2 separate regions of the Homo sapiens genome follow, and region 1 is linked to region 2. The links are contacts of gene promoters, found by promoter capture Hi-C in human tissues and cell types (Jung and others, 2019). All regions are on one chromosome and are shown on one strand. The core of a region is centred on a gene start or on the middle of the fragment in contact, and the rest is flanking DNA. Distances in the headings are between cores, read along the strand shown.

Region 1 (3,803 bases), core at 462-2,961, 140 kb after region 2:
CTTTTCCCATTTGAAAAGAGTCAAAAAAATTTAAAAGCCATTTATATCATGGACACATCTTAAGACTCTTCTAAGGATTTTTAAGAACTTATACTTCTGTAACTAAAAAGAATACACACAGTAATTGAAAGCCAGAAAACTGCAGCAACATTTTCCTTCTCACTTTTTTAGGATATTATTCTCACCGGGAAACTGTGAACGGCTCATGGTACATTCAAGATTTGTGTGAGATGTTGGGAAAATATGGCTCCTCCTTAGAGTTCACAGAACTCCTCACACTGGTGAACAGGAAAGTTTCTCAGCGCCGAGTGGACTTTTGCAAAGACCCAAGTGCAATTGGAAAGAAGCAGGTTCCCTGTTTTGCCTCAATGCTAACTAAAAAGCTGCATTTCTTTCCAAAATCTAATTAATTAATAGAGGCTATCTAATTTTACACTCTGTATTGAAAATGGCTTTCTCAGCCAGGCGTGGTTACTCACACCTGTAATCCCAGCACTTTGGGAGTCCAAGGTGGGCGGATCACCTGAGGTCGGGAGTTCGAGACCAGCCTGACCAACATGGAGAAGCCCCGTCTCTACTAAAAATGCAAAAAAAAATTTAGCTAGGCATGGCGGCGCATGCCTGCAATCCCAGCTACTTGGAAGGCTGAGGCAGGAGAATCACTTGAACCCAGGAGGTGGAGGCTGCGGTGAGCCGAGATTGCGCCATTGCACTCCAGCCTGGGCAACGAGTGAAACTCCGTCTCAAAAAAAAGAAAATGTCTTTCTCTTCCTTTTATATAAATATCGTTAGGGTGAAGCATTATGGTCTAATGATTCAAATGTTTTAAAGTTTAATGCCTAGCAGAGAACTGCCTTAAAAAAAAAAAAAAAAAGTTCATGTTGGCCATGGTGAAAGGGTTTGATATGGAGAAACAAAATCCTCAGGAAATTAGATAAATAAAAATTTATAAGCATTTGTATTATTTTTTAATAAACTGCAGGGTTACACAAAAATCTAGCTGATTTAACTTGTATTTTGTCACTTTTTTATAAAAGTTTATTGTTTGATGTTTTTAAAGGTTTTTGAAATCCAGGAATTAAATCATCCCTTAATAAAATATTCGAAATTCATATTTTATTACATTTTTCTAACTCACATTCTTGTTCATTTGTGTAATTGATAGATGTTTTTTACTCGGTCATTTAAATGTTTAATATTTCATCTACATATGAATTACCACATTTTGTGTATGACTTTAATTCCTACTTTAAAAAAAATCAGCATTCCAGAATTGTTGTATGGCATTCTGAGGATGAAATAGAAAACATAATTCTTAGCCACTATAGGTTGAACACCTGCAAAATCTGATTCTGTCAGCATCTTCCATGTTAAGTTCCTACAAACAGTCCAACAGTCATCAGACCCATTCACACACAATCACATTAATAGAATAACAGATGTTACTTTCAAGGTTCAATTCTTATTAATATGATATAGAATCTGAATAATACTGTTTTGTTAATAATCTGCCAGAGGCTGAAGAAAGTTAACTGTTTTGGCTTCGATACCTGAAACTTGTGATTTGCAGGTTCAAAAGCAATCGTTTATATACACTGTTTCAGTTGAAGTTCAAAAAGTACCAACTATACTTTATGGTTGGTGGAACATTTATGCCTTTTTGATAAATGATAAAAAGATCTTACTCCCAACTACTGCATATTAAAAAAAGAAGTTAATGACAAGACGATTCCGTGGGAGGTTGAGGCAGGAGGGTTGCTTGAGCCCAGGAGTTTGATTTGGCAAGACCTGGTCTCTGATTTTTTTAAAAGGATGATTCCAAATTAAGTCTAAGAATGGAAGTGAATGCCAAGCACAGACCCTTTCACCTCCACATAGAGAATAAACGTGGGACAAGCTGACAAGGATTTTTAGCTAACAGCAGCCACCGTTGCTTTGATAGACGCATACAAGCCCTTTCTAACATTAGCAAGTCATAAAAATCCAAAAAGTAAAAATCTCAGTTGAGAACTTCAAACAATACTTCTGTTTTACAAGAATTTAATAACAAAGATTAAACAATCAAAATGAACCATGGGACTCAAAAACATCCTAAGTTGCAAAATCAATACATAATGGAAAATCTGACGACATTTAAAACTGTAAGATTAATTCTTTTCATTGAGTTCTTCTACTTGCATTTGCAAACAGAGAGAATGACGCGCCTGTTTCAGGGATTCTTTAGCCTGTCATGGGAAAAAGAAAAAGCATGTGATCAGAAAGAAGAGAAACATACCAACATTACTGCTTGAGAGGAATTCTATAAACTTAGCGTCTCCTTACAGCAATAAAATGTTTAAACTATTAGTGGCAAATGGCTGAAATATATATATATTTTTCTTGAGATGGGGTTTCATTCTGTCACCCAGGCAGGAGTGCAGTGCTACCATCTCAGCCCACTGCAACCTCTGCCTCCCTGGTGCAAGTCATTCTCCTGCCTCAGCCTCCCAAGTAGCTAGGACCACAGGTGCCCACCACCATGCCCACCTAATATTTTTTGGTATTTTTTGTAGAGATGGAGTTTTGCCATGTTGCTCTGGCTGGTCTTGAACTCCTGGACTCAAGTGATTTGCCCACCTTGGCTTCCCAAAGTGACGGGATATAAATATTTCAATTTTATATGTGGATCTTTTTAAAAGATGAGTTTAAGTTTACTAATTCATCCTTATGCCTTAAAAAAAAATACAGTTTATACCCTTTATAATGGTTTTCCACTTAATATTCTTAAAAAAAAAACCCTTAACCTACCACTTTATCTTTTTATCTCCACTTTATTACCTTAAACATAATTAACAAGGTGTTATATTTAAATTTTTTTATTTTAGAGATGGGGTCTTGCTCTGTTGCCCAGGCTGGAGTGCAGTGGTGTGATCATAGTTCACTGCAGCTTTGGAACTCTTGGGTTCAAGGGATCTTCCTGCTTCAGCTTCCCAAGTAGCTAGGGCTACAAGCATGTGCCACCATGTCCAGCTAATTTAAAAACAAATTTTGTAGAGATGAGGTCTCACTATGTTGACTAGACTGGTCTCCAATTTCTGGACTCGAGATCCTCCCACCTCAGCCTCCCAAATCACTGGGATCACACTAGGCTTACCTTCTAAATCTCAAATGCACTGTCTTGTAAACTAGCTGAAAGAACATTCCTTAGCCTTCTCAGATAGGATTATTCAAATATAAGGGAATCCACAAATTTTTTTTAAAAGCATTATATTTTTCCTATAGAATGACTATATGAAATAAAATACATTTTTTAAAAAGGCTTGGCTGGACATGGTGGCTCACACCTGTAATCCTAACACTTTGGGAGGCCAAGGCAGGTGGATCACTTGAGGTTAGGAGTTTGAGACCAGCCTGGACAACATAGTGGAACTCTGTCTCTACTAAAAATACAAAAAGTAACCAGGTGTGGTGGCGGGCGCCTATAATCACAGCTAACTCAGGAGGCTGAGGCACAAGAATCACTTGAACCCAGGAGGCGGAGGTTGCAGTGAACTGAGATTGCACCACTACACTCTAGTGTGGGCAACAGCAAGAATCTGTCTCAAAAAAATTTAAATTAAAACGTCCTTCAATTTTTGGACTACAAAATTTGAGTGATTCTGTTTTAAATTCTAGGGATGAGTAATTTAGAAAGTACACATAACAAAAGGTTTGATTACCAGCTACTAAACAAGCATGCATTGAGCAATGGAGGATATTTTTACCAAACTTTTTTGTTATGAAATTACTGATAAAAATGAAAAATCCAGTGATGTGCTGAGAAG
Region 2 (3,886 bases), core at 1,120-3,619:
TCATGTCACTCCCATTTCAAACCCTTCAGTGACTCCCTGTCACCTTTAAAACTTACACGGCTCATCACTGTCTGGTACTCAGCCATCTTTTTCAACCTCTCACCCTTCATTTTACAGTTCAAACATAATGATTTATTTCAGATCCTCAAATTCACCATGTCCTCTTACCTCCCAGCCTTAACTGGGGAAAGGGAGAGTGCTCAAGGACACTAAATTAACAAAATGTCTGTTGCACTGGAAGTTGTAACAGTTTATAGGAGCCAAACTATAAATGAAAGATCAAATTAAAAATTAAATAAAAAATCTAAATAGGCCCTTGGTAAAAGTAACGAATGAAATAAATGCTTTCACTACACCCTTTCCTCATAGTTTTGGTTTTGATTTGCAACTTTAAGTGAGTTTTGTTAAAGGAGGAAAGTTAGGGGATCTAAAGAAAAATAGATGCTTGATACAGGGGCAGAACAAAAGCATAAAGAGTTCAGCTATGCTTCCTTCAGTGGATCCACCAGAAACACAAACAACACACACTCATTGTATACCTTGATAAAGCTGACTCTTGGATTTATATGTGAGGGCTCTAGAACCAAAATGCCTGGGTTCAAATCCTGGTGTAGCTGCTTAGTAAATGTGTGTGCTGGACAAGTTTCTTAAGCTCTTCATCTGTATAAACTAGAGAAATAAAACTGAAGAGTAACTTACTAAATTAGTGTAAGGATGAATTATTCTGTATGTGTAAGGTTTTAGAACAGTGCTTGGTATATAGCAAGTATTCAAATGATAACATTAGTAGCAGTAGTAGTAAGATTACTATTATTATTACTGTTACAGAGATAAGAACTAAATAGAATATTTTCTGCATGCTAATTTTGTAACCAGGTCAAAAAAGGATAGTTTTGGTTGTTTTTTGGATTTTTTTTTTTTTTGGTCATCTACAAATAACTAACTAAACCAAACACTTGTATACAAAGTATTTCCATGTAATTGTTAGGAGATTTTCTCAGTCTTTTTTGCAATTACAAAAAAACTAGAACTTGTCTAGTACTTATCATAGAGGTATTCAAATGAACGAGATAACGTCACTAAAATCGCAAAACTTAACTGAGGAACTCAATTTCCAGTACTAGAAGTAATACGCTGAATTATAAGGAAGAAACGTAAACAATTATAAACTGGGTATAGGATGGTGTGTTATACTTTTCACTCTACTTTTGAATGTTTGAAAATTTTTATAAAAGTCAATCCAAAAAATAATGAACTCAATATAAGAGTTACTTCTACAACTCGTTAGAGTATAAAGTTGAAAATTAAGTGATTGCTCAATATAAAAGTTACACAATTCAATGATACATTAAAAAGATAAAAAGTTTCTGTCATTCCCCCATCCCTTTTTTTCTGCAAACAATCCTTTACATCAATGAGTGTGTAGGGAGGAAAGGGAAAAAGAAACAAATATTTGTCCAACACCTACTATATGGCATTTATGTGTCACTTAATTTTACTCCTTATAACAATCATGACAGATAACTTATTCTTATCCTTGTTTTACAGATGAGAAAATGGAAGAACAAAAAGGGAAGATACATGCTCACAGTTGCAAATATACTAAAAGATGAAATCCAAAACTCAAGAGTTTTCCAATAAGCATTCTGGAACAAGCTGAATTTTCAGACTCTGTCCTCAATGACAATATACCCTGCTCTGTCTTCTTAGGACTTTTTCTTTCCAGAACCTTTAAGTTCTTAGCTAAATTCTACCACCAAGAACAAAAATATGAGGGTTATGTATAAGAATAGTAAATGACATAAAAATATGTTTTTGCCATGGTGCATACTCTTCTCCAATAAAAACTTTAACAATCCAATAATCAAATACATAGATTTTTATGAAAGAACTATTTATCACATAGAAAACTTTTCTCAGCCCCACTTCACTGCTCTTATTTACCAAAATTCAAAATAACCTGTGGCAATGGCCATCACTAACAATGCTTTCCCTTATTCTTTCACCCACATTATCTTATTTGATCTTTACAGCCCAGAAATAGAGTATCATCATCCTCATTTACCAACGAGCAAGCCAAGTCAGGATAAATGACTTGTCAAGGTTGGCCAATAATATGGAACTTGAAACAATGCATGCCTTATGCTGAAAACTTCTGCCTTTCTTCACCCATTCTAAAGAAAAATAACTTACTTAAATATCCATACCTGCCATAATCAAGTAAGTTGCAACAATATTGTGTTCAGTCTGTGAAAAGACCGAGCCATCTTCATTTTTAGAGTCTGAACTGTTGCCTAAATTATTTCTTAGCATTTTGGAGGGAAGATACCGAAACACCCTTCATAATAAGCCTTCGATAATTATGAACTGCTTTATGAGCTACTGAGGAAAGATTTTTTAGGACCAATCATTTCCACTTAGAGACCTCAAAGAAGGGCCTTTTCATAGAGGCCCTCCCTTAACAAATTTAATTGGGCTAAAGAGGAAAGGACTTTAATTCCCAGAATAAGGGAAAAGCTTATTAGCAAAACAAAAAGAAATACCAAGCACCACACATTTTAACCTATTTGGGCATCAGTCTTCTATCTAAGGAGATTATCAAGCACACACATCCCATTTAACAATAAACAAACTCAGGAAATCAGTATAGGAGCCAGCCTTAGTCCTCTAAAACTATTCGGATTAAGGTCCCTGTTTTCTGTTGACCATTCAAGTCTTTCCATTTCGGCTCCTTTTGTTGTTTTTTTTTTCTTAACAATTTAAATATTAGTGACAAAGAAGTAGTCTCCTTCCTACTTCCAAATCTCACTCTCCTAAAGGTACCAGTATTGTTTGGTGCATATCCTTTCTTAGGCTTTTCTCTGCTTATACACATATTCATACAAGTGTTTCAGGTTTCCTCCACTTTCTTCTTGTAAATAAAAATGAGGGAAAAAAATAAGTACAAATGTATATATATAATGCAACTTGTTTTCCCATAAGGCTGTATTATAATATCCAAGTTAATAAACCCAGAATCTAATAAAGTCTAATTTATTAGTAGCTATGTATTTCATAGCATGGATATAATATGATCAACTCCACCATCCGTTAATTTCCCCTATAGTTTGATATGCACATGAGTAATTAATATTATCTGATGATAGTAATCATTGTATACTTTGCCAGAGTATCTGAATTCAATCACTGATATTGTAAAGTACAGAATAAAAATATTCTGGATTATCACATTACAACCTGAAAACCAACCTGAGCATGTTTTGTTAGAATAATAAGGTATCCCTATTACCTTTTTTCCCATATTCTTTATGCCATTAACATTATTAAAATCTGATTCTCCTCAGTTTCCTAAAATCAGTAAACATTAGAGAAATGCTTAGATGCACCAAAGTTAACAGTGTAAGCATAAAACAGAACCACTAGAGGGCTATATTTACCCACTTAGTTTAATTTTATAAAAATCCTAGAATGGCACAGCAGAAACCTAAGATAATCCTTTTGCTTCAGTTCTCTTGCCTGTGTATAAACTCAAGATGAACAGGTTGATTTATCTGTCCCAAATCTTATAGCTACCAGTACTCACATTTTTATAAATGTAATATTGTTATACCTATACTAGAAAAGCGAATCTCGTCAGTATTGTTTTCAAATGACCCTAGAGCAAAAAACATAATACCCAAGAGGAAATCACTCCCTTTAAAAAGTCTTTGTCTTTTCTTTCATTCAATATGCAAAACAAAACTTAAAATTTTTGAATTTGCTTTGGGTCATACTACCTTCCTTTTCTGTAATAAGTTATACCTAGTTGTAGCATCCATGAAAAATTTTCCAGAAATAATTATTTCTAAGAACTGAAAAATATATAATTTCAGATAGTCAGCTTTCT

The links. The method cuts DNA at HindIII sites, captures the fragments that hold promoters and counts their contacts. A contact is called where the count stands out against the background at its distance.
Region 1: a contact is called between a fragment that was not itself captured here and the fragment with the promoter of RRH in region 2, in 1 of the 25 tissues and cell types used here (spleen).

What each region holds. Positions count from the first base shown.
Region 1 is chr4:109,685,937-109,689,739 of GRCh38, reverse strand. It overlaps MCUB (mitochondrial calcium uniporter dominant negative subunit beta), which reads right to left. Exons shown (of 8, transcript NM_017918.5): 8 at 1,021-2,225. The coding sequence ends at 2,148. CASP6 (caspase 6) reads left to right here. Exons shown (of 7, transcript NM_001226.4): 7 at 172-1,112. The coding sequence ends at 410. Among named protein-coding and RNA genes, the nearest start is that of CASP6, 16 kb to the left of the region's middle. The HindIII fragment of the contact is 5,769 bases long and covers 1-3,803 here.
Region 2 is chr4:109,826,455-109,830,340 of GRCh38, reverse strand. RRH (retinal pigment epithelium-derived rhodopsin homolog) reads right to left here and starts at 2,369. Exons shown (of 7, transcript NM_006583.5): 1 at 2,208-2,369. The coding sequence starts at 2,313. The HindIII fragment of the contact is 8,882 bases long and covers 1-3,463 here.